3 separate regions of the Homo sapiens genome follow, and regions 1 and 3 are each linked to region 2. The links are contacts of gene promoters, found by promoter capture Hi-C in human tissues and cell types (Jung and others, 2019). All regions are on one chromosome and are shown on one strand. The core of a region is centred on a gene start or on the middle of the fragment in contact, and the rest is flanking DNA. Distances in the headings are between cores, read along the strand shown. Region 1 has its middle 21 kb from the start of CSF3R. Region 2 holds the start of MRPS15 (mitochondrial ribosomal protein S15). Region 3 has its middle 38 kb from the start of CSF3R.

Region 1 (2,700 bases), core at 184-2,683, 40 kb after region 2:
AACTTTTCTATCCCTTTTAAGATGCTTTGCATCTTAAAGTCTGTTTTTCTTCTGATTTTAGTGTAGCTCTCCCAGCTTTCTTTTTTAAAAAATGTCGTAAATTTTTTTTAGAGACAGGATCTCGCTCGCTCTGTCACCCAGGCTGGAGTGCAGTGGTGTGATCATGGCTTACTGCAGCCTCAAACTCCTTGGCTCAAATAACCCTTCCACCTCAGCCTCCTGAGTAGGTGGAACTATAGACACACACCACCATGCCTGCTAATTATTTTTTATTGTAGAGATGGGGGTCTTGCTATGTTGCCCAGGCTGACCTCAAACTCCTGGCCTCAAGCAATTCTCCCACCTCATCCTCCCAAAGTGCTGAGATTACAAGTGTAAGCCACTGCATTCGGCCTCCAGCTTTCTTTTGATTAGTGTTTGTGTGGTCTTTCAATCTATCTCCTTATGTTTCAGTGTTTTAGATATGCCACCATATGCAGCATAGAGCTGGATTCTAAAAAATCCAATCTAACAATATGTATTTTAAATAGCACACATAGACTTTTAGTTTATTGTGATTATAGATACATCTCGAGTTATTTTTGTTATCTTTCTTATCCTATTCCCCCTCCCCCTATTCTTTCTCTTCCTACTGGTTCTTCCTTTGGATTTATTGAGTTTGTTTATTTTCTTACTCTATGCTTTTCTACCTCCTTTATTGATTTGGAATTTATATACCCTACTTGTATATTTCTATTGAAATAGATAGATTGCTTCTATATTTCTGTTGAAATAGATAGATTCTATTGATTGCTTTTGAAATTCTATCCTGCATACCTAAAGAAATCTCAGATTATGAGTTTCTCAACCACCTTCCTAAATAATAGACTGAACTTTGAACCCTTTGGCTGTGATCTTCCCCTACAGGTTTACATACTCTCTTTTTGGTGCAGTTTTTGAATTATTTCCTTACTGTTCCCGTCTGTTGTCATTATTTTATATAATATTTGTATAGATTTATTTGTTTATCAATTTCTTTGCTTACTATTCTTTTGTGCATACCAGTCCTTCCTTCTGGGGTAATTTCCCTTTTTCTTGTAGCATATTCTTCAGTAAAGATTTGTTGTTGGTAAATGCTTTTTGCTTTTCTTTCTCTGAAAAAAATCCAGATGTTTCCATTTCACCGTCAGCTTTGGAAGATGGTTTTGCTAAGTTCACAATTCTAGGTTGACAGTTATTTTCTCCCAGAACTTTGAAGCTCGTCCCTGTCTTCTGGCTTTCACTGTTGCTTTTGAGAGGTGTGCTGTCATTTAATTATCCTTCCTTTGTGGGTGGCATGTCTTTTCTGTGTGGCTGCTTTTAAGATCTCTGTCTTTGGTGTTATGCAGTTTCTCCACACTGTGATTAGCTGTGAATTTCCTTTTATTTATGTTGTTAGATGTATGTTACGTTCCCAGTGTCTGTGAAGTCATGCCTTTCATCAGTTCTGGAAAGTTCTCAGCCATTATCTCTTCAAATATTGCCTCTCCCTCTTTCTCTCTCTATCCTCTTTCTGGGACTTTTATTCTACCTGCTATTGCTTTTAACCTGTCTTTCATATTGTCCATTTGCTTGTCTCTGTGCTGAAAATTGTGTAATGTCTTCAGATTAATCTTCCAGCTCACTCTGTCTCATCAACTGTGTCTAATATGCTGTTTAACCCATTTGTTGAATTTTTGGTTTCAACAAGTTATTTCATTTCTAAAAGTTCTCTGCTGTTCTTTTCCAGATCTATTTTTAAAAATTATCTCTTGTGATTTGATCACTTTTGTGATTTCATTTTTTATTTCTTTAAAATCTTCAATTATAGTTATTTCATTTACTGTAATTATGATAATTACAATTTCTGTTATCCTTAGGGATCTATATCTACTGTATGTTATTTCTGCTAACAATTGCCTCTTGTGTGTTTGGTGATTTTTTTTTTAATTGTGGATTTATATGTATAGTTGGTCCTCTGTATCTGTGGGTTCTGCATCTTGGATTTAACCCATCGAGGATGGAAAATACTTGGAAAAAAAATTCCGCTAAGTTCCAAAAAGCAAAACTTGAACTTGCTGTGTGCCAAGTACTATTTTCCTGTGTGCCAAGTACTATTTTGAATCCATTAGAACAAAGTGATGTGTATGCATTGTATTAGGTATTATAAGTAACCTAGAGATAATTTAAAGTATATGAGAGGGTGTGTGTATGTTATATGCAAATACTATGGTGTTTTGTTCTGTTTTGAGACAGACTCTCACTCTGTCTCCCATGCTGGAGTGCAGTGACACAATACAGTTGCTCACTGTAGCCTCCACCTCCCAGGCTCAAGTGATCCTCCCACATCAGCCTCCCAAGTAGCTGGGACTACAGGGGCACAGGTGCACACCACCACATCCAGCTAATTTTAAATTTCTTCTTATGTATGTATGTATGTATTTATTTATTTTGTATTTTTAGTAGAGACGGGGTTTCACCATGTTAGCCAGGATGGTCTTGATCTCCTGACCTCCTGATCCACCCGCCTCGGCCTCCCAAAGTGTTGGGATTACAGGCATGAGCCACTGCGCCTGGTCTAATTTCTTTTTAGAGATGGGGGTCTCACGATGTTGTCCAGTCTAGTCTGGAGCCCCTGAGCCCAATCATCCTTTCACCTCGGCCTCCCAAAATGCTAGGATTACAGGCATAAGCCACCATGCC
Region 2 (2,835 bases), core at 248-2,747:
GTCTTGAACTCCTGGCCTCAAGTGATCCTCCAGCCTTGGCCTCCCAAAATGTTGGGGCCATGTCCAGCCAATAATTTCTTTCTTTTTTGTTTTTTTGAGATGGAGTCTCGCTCTGTCACCCAGGCTGGAGTGCAGTGGCACGATCGGCTCACTGCAACCTCCACCTCCCAGGTTCAAGCGATTCTCCTGCCTCAGCCTCCTGAGTAGCTGGGATTACAGGCGCGCGCTACCACACCTGGCTAATTTTTTTCTGTATTTTTAGTAGAGACGAGGTTTCACCATGTTGGCCAGGCTGGTCTCGAACTCCTGAACTCAAGTGATCTGCCCACCTTGGCCTCCCAAAGTGTTGGGATTACAGGCGTAAGCCACCGCGTCCGGCCCCAGATAATAAATTCTAATATATACTATCAATATATTTAATTGAGCACAGCGTTAAGGGTGCTTTTCGTGTATTATCGCTGAATCCTAACAATCCTTGCAAATGGATACTTTCACACTCATTTTAGAAATAAGAATCAGAGAGAGGAAGTACCTTGCCCCATATCATTTACCTAATAAGAAGGATCTTAACTACTATGCATACTGAGTTGCAATGGGAAATTACATCCTGCATCTCAGAAGCGCAGACACAAAGTGCCATACTCTAGGTAGGCCTGGGTGGTGCCAGCCATGCACTCCCTCTGGGAAGCTCATTTTCACTCATTCACCTGGAAAGCTCCTGCTCCCGCCCTTCACACCCCTCTGTCCCCATACAGGCTGCAGGCCTAGGGCTTTGTGTAAGGTGGACGTGGGGTCTTTTGCTCAGGACCTCTGGCTCACCTCATCTAGTGGCTCTAATTCGCCACATCGGTCCCCTTACCCACCCCAGCCTTCCAGGAGGTCTCTCTTCCGCCCCAAGTCCCACCTTAGGAACTCCTACCTGGTTTCCGGACGACATATCCGCGCGCGGCCTGGAGGAGGAGACCTACGCAGAAAAGAGAGGGCTGAGGACCATCTCCTTAAATAGCCCACCCCTCAGTTCCTTTCTGTGCCCCTCGCATTGCCCGTCCGCCACGGTCTATGCGCTTCTGAACCTAACCGCTGCCCCATTTCTTCCCTACCCCTTGTCTCTCACATCTTGTTTCACCTCTTGCGCAACCACCGCCCTTTCCCCCTTATCCTGACCGCTGTATATCTCCCCTACTCCTGTGCTTCCTTATTCCCTATCTTCGCCGAACCCTGTTTCCCTACGCCCGCCGTCCCATTTCTCAGCTCCTCACTTCGAGGCTGCAGGCCCCACTGGTTGAAAGGAAACTTGGCGCTCCCACCGCCCGGCAGCCCGGGTACTAGGACCTGGGTAACTGCCCGGGTCCGAATCAAACTCAGCGTCCTCCACGCGACCCTCAGCATGGTGACCTCTAACCCCCGCGGGGCCCGCGCCGCGGCCGCCGTTCGCTTTGCGGCACGGACCGGGTTACATGGGCGCCGCCATGCTGGCCCAGGATCGACCAATCGAGGCAGTTGCAATACCGGAGCAGACGAAGACCGAGAGAATGGATTAGGTGGCGTGACTCTGATGACGCAACGCACGGGGCGGAGCTCAGAGACCGGGTTCCCGCTGCGCGTGATCGGGCCGTGGTGGTTGTGTGCCCACGTTTAGCAGCGTGCTGGGGTGCTGTATAAATTCTAAAATGCCACTTTTTGGAGGGCATGCGTTCCGTCCTTAATCTCATTCCTGGCCCTCGGGCCAGGGTTATTTTGGGAGGTCCATGGCGCCTGCGGTAGCCTTCTACCCCCAACCCAATCCCCTCTCCACCCCACCTCACCCCTCCCTTAGACAAGGATGGGACCGTGTAAGAACTACTACTGGGTTTCAGCCATGTCTCTGGCAGCCTCGTAGCCTGGAGACTAAAGTCGCTGAGTTTGGAATCGCACAGTCCTGGTCTGGAATCCTAACTCAGCCATTTACTCAACATGTGATCTTGTGGGCAAGTCACTTAACCTATGTGGGCCCTGTAGGGATAGTAATAACAATATCTCTCTTTTAGGTTGTTGAGAGGATTAACTGAGTTGTATGCAGACCACCTGGTATATAGTGAGCATTTAGTAAATCTTTACGGTGACGTTATTTGTGAAATGAGTGGTGTAAGGGTGGATACAAATTAGAAGAAAAAGAAAATTTAATTTTCCCTGGCGCAAAAAGGGAAAAGACTCCTTCCCCTCACTTTTCTGAGAGCATTTACTTTAGAAAACTTGTAATTGTGAATACTTTCTCTACTGCTTTGCGATGAATGTAAATCTTCTTAAAAGGTAAATAAACCTCTTGCCAGTTTTACAACCCCGGAATGTTTTTCTCAAGGACCTGGGGGCCAACCCTTTGAAATGTAATAATTAAGGAAGATAGTGCTCTCTCTCAGTTCCTGTGGGAGGGTAGGAGCCTAACTTCAGTTGGTGCCTAGCTCTTAGTTGCAACCTACCCTTTGTTATAAAGATAGGGGAAATCGATTTTTCCTTTGGATAAAGGCAATTAGCAGACACAGGTGGCTTCCCACTTACCAGGTAAATTTAGAGTGAGGTGCAGCCAAGTCCTCTTGCTTGAGGACCAGTTATTGTTTATCTTGAGAAAATGGATACAGTAAGTTGTATTCACTTTGCTACATAAAAGAGTAAGATTTTTGTCTCTTTGCAGTCTCTTTAGTGGATCACCAGTGTATCACATTCCGGTTTAATGCTTATTCAATAATAACACTGTTTTCTTTCTTTTCTACCCTTGTGAAGAGGTTTTCTGCGTTGGCAGGGGATTTTGTCTTTAATTTTATTTCCCCAACAGGGGTTAGTTTTTCCAAAGTCTCTTCA
Region 3 (2,700 bases), core at 154-2,653, 57 kb after region 2:
GTTCAAGCGATTCTCCTGCCTCAGTCTCCCGAGTAGCTGGGACTATAGGCGTGCATCCCCACACCCGGCTAATTTTTGTACTTTTAGTAGAGACGGTGTTTCACCATATTGGCCAGGCTGTTCACGAACTCCTGACCTCATGTGATTCGCCCGCCTCGGCCCCCTGAAGTGCTGGGATTACAGGCGTGAGCCACTGTGCCCCAGCCCATCATCAGTTTTTAAGTGTGGGGTCACAGGTGTGTGGCTACTTCCAGGTGTGTCTGTGCACATGCATGCATAATTGGAATGTGTGTGATGGGTGTCAGGACATATTCAGATGTACAGACCTGTGACCGCCTCCCACCCCCTCTCCCAAGGCTCTTCCCCCAAACCTGAAAAGCCACAGGATGGAGGAAGAGGCCCAGCCTCAGCAGGCCTGCCTTGGTCCCTGGCTCCCCTCCGAGCCCCAGCGGAGAGTTAATTAAATCCCTTTCCCAACAAGGGTGGTAATTAGTGCTAATGGTTCGGCTTCCACTCAGAGGCTGGAGAGGTTCCTGCTCCGTGTCTGTGTGTGTATGTGTGTTAGGGGGTGGGTAGCAGGGCCTTCTCAGTTCCAGAAACTTATGGGGTGTGGAGAGGGGCTTCTGAGAACTCCCCAGTCTTTTCCTGCTCCTGTCTCCTGATCTTACGGGCTCCAGGAGGCTGGGAGTGTGGTGGGTCTCCCGCCAGCCTGCCTGGGAAGAACCTGGTTGTGGTGCCCTTAGCTTGAGGCCTGTGGCTCTCTAGGAATCTGTTTGTGACTGAGGGTGTGCTTCTGTGTGTGTGTGTGTTTGTGTCTGTGCGCGTGCACAAGGGACACTCTGAACCATGCTGTGTGCATATAAATGACCATATATATAACAGTGATATATGAATGGTGCCCCCTGGAATTGTGCAATGTGGTAGCCCTGATTCACAGACCCCAAGTTGGCATGTCCATGATGTGTGCAATGACTCTGTGTTTCTGGGTGTCCTCTGTGTGTTTCGAGGTGTACCTGAAGGTGGGTGCCAGTGAGTGTGGGCCTATGTGTGTTTACATGTGACAAAATGCAAGGAGCAGCAGGGCCGCTGGCTTCTGGGGCCTGACTGACACCCCTTGCAAATAAATGTGACAATGAAATACAGTCCTGGAATTGCTTTGGATGCTCCGTCAAGCAGGCGACGCAGAATAGGTGAAGCTGTAAAGTGTTCCCTGGGGAGCTGTGTGGCTGAGTGACAGCCCCGTGCTGGCTCCTGCCTCTCTGCCTGGCTCTCCCTTGTGAGACCCTGGGGCTGAAGACACTCATCCTGACCACAGCCTGGAAGACTCGGGAGAACCGGCTTCCACAGCCTGTGAGGAGTGAAGGGCAGAGGGGACCTGGCAGGGCTCCATCCCTTCACCATTGTCTCATCGCTCTCTTCAGGTGGAGTGCCCAGAGTAGGGCTGTGTCCCATCCCCGTCATATGCACTCAGACTGGGCTCTCTCAGGACAGGGTCCTGTCTCCCCCCTCAGACTGGGCTGTCTCAGGACAGGGCCCTGTCTCCTCCCTCAGACTGGGATCTCTCAGGAAAGGGCCCTGTCTCCCCTCTCAGACTGGACTCTCTCAGGAAAGGGCCCTGTCTCCCCCCTCAGACTGGGCTGTCTCAGGACAGGGCCCTGTCTCCTCCCTCAGACTGGGATCTCTCAGGAAAGGGCCCTGTCTCCCCTCTCAGACTGGACTCTCTCAGGAAAGGGCCCTGTCTCCCTCCTCAGACTGGGCTCTCTCAGGACAGGGCCCTGTCTCCTCCCTCAGACTGGGCTCTCTTAGGAAAGGGCCCTGTCTCCCCTCTCAGACTGGGCTCTCTCAGGACAGGGCCATGTCTCCTCCCTCAGACTGGGCTCTCTCAGGACAGGGACCTGTCTCCCTTCTCAGACTGGGCTCTCTCAGGACGGGGTCCTGTCTCCCCCCTCAGACCCGGCTCTCTCAGGACAGGGTCCTGTCTCCTCCCTCAGACTGGGCTCTCTCAGGACAGGGTCCTGTCTTCCCCCTCAGACTGGGCTCTCTCAGGACAGGGTCCTGTCTCCTCCCTCAGACTGGGCTCTCTCACGACAGGGTCCTGTCTCCTCCCTCAGACTGGGCTCTCTCAGGACAGGGCCCTGTCTCCCCCCTCAGACTGGGCTTTCTCAGGACAGGGCCCTGTCTCCCCCCTCAGACTGGGTCTCCAGAGGGCAGAGTTCTGCCTTCCTCTCCGGGGCTCCCTTGAGTGGGGATGTTTCTCCTAAGATTGGGAGACCGCTCAAGAGAGGGCCGAGTCTCCCTGTGAGGCCCGAGCCCCTGAGCACCCTCCGCTTGGTTTATGCGTGTATCGCACACTCATGCATGCATATCTGGCTGCAGATTTGGAGGTTGCAGAGCTGTCTGCATGAGCCTTAGCTCTGGAGACCTGGGTTCAAATCCCACACCTGCTAACTTCATTAGCCATGATCTCAGGGAGGTAGTAACAGCTTCCACAAAGTCAGGGCACTGCTTAGGGCTCTGGTTAGGGGCTGACAGGACACTTTTTTCTTTTTTTTTCAATCACAAAAGTGCCTTCTGCTCGTTAAGCCATGTGCCCTCCCAGGTGGCACCTCATTCTAATAGTTAGGCCAGGGGTGCCTTGTTAAATTCTCCCCAAATAGCAGGGCAGGCTACCATGGCCCTGCACAGAGGGTGTGGCGTGCC

The links. The method cuts DNA at HindIII sites, captures the fragments that hold promoters and counts their contacts. A contact is called where the count stands out against the background at its distance.
Region 1: a fragment that was not itself captured here is called in contact with the fragment with the promoter of MRPS15 in region 2 in 1 of the 25 tissues and cell types used here (stomach).
Region 3: a fragment that was not itself captured here is called in contact with the fragment with the promoter of MRPS15 in region 2 in 1 of the 25 tissues and cell types used here (stomach).

What each region holds. Positions count from the first base shown.
Region 1 is chr1:36,502,493-36,505,192 of GRCh38, forward strand. No RefSeq gene overlaps it. Among named protein-coding and RNA genes, the nearest start is that of CSF3R, 21 kb to the left of the region's middle. The HindIII fragment of the contact is 8,891 bases long and covers 1-2,700 here.
Region 2 is chr1:36,462,887-36,465,721 of GRCh38, forward strand. MRPS15 (mitochondrial ribosomal protein S15) reads right to left here and starts at 1,498. Exons shown (of 8, transcript NM_031280.4): 1 at 1,260-1,498; 2 at 920-964. The coding sequence starts at 1,389. RefSeq lists enhancers at 506-1,409, 805-2,004, 1,404-1,653, 1,410-2,311. The HindIII fragment of the contact is 17,048 bases long and covers 1-2,835 here.
Region 3 is chr1:36,519,961-36,522,660 of GRCh38, forward strand. No RefSeq gene overlaps it. Among named protein-coding and RNA genes, the nearest start is that of CSF3R, 38 kb to the left of the region's middle. The HindIII fragment of the contact is 7,915 bases long and covers 1-2,700 here.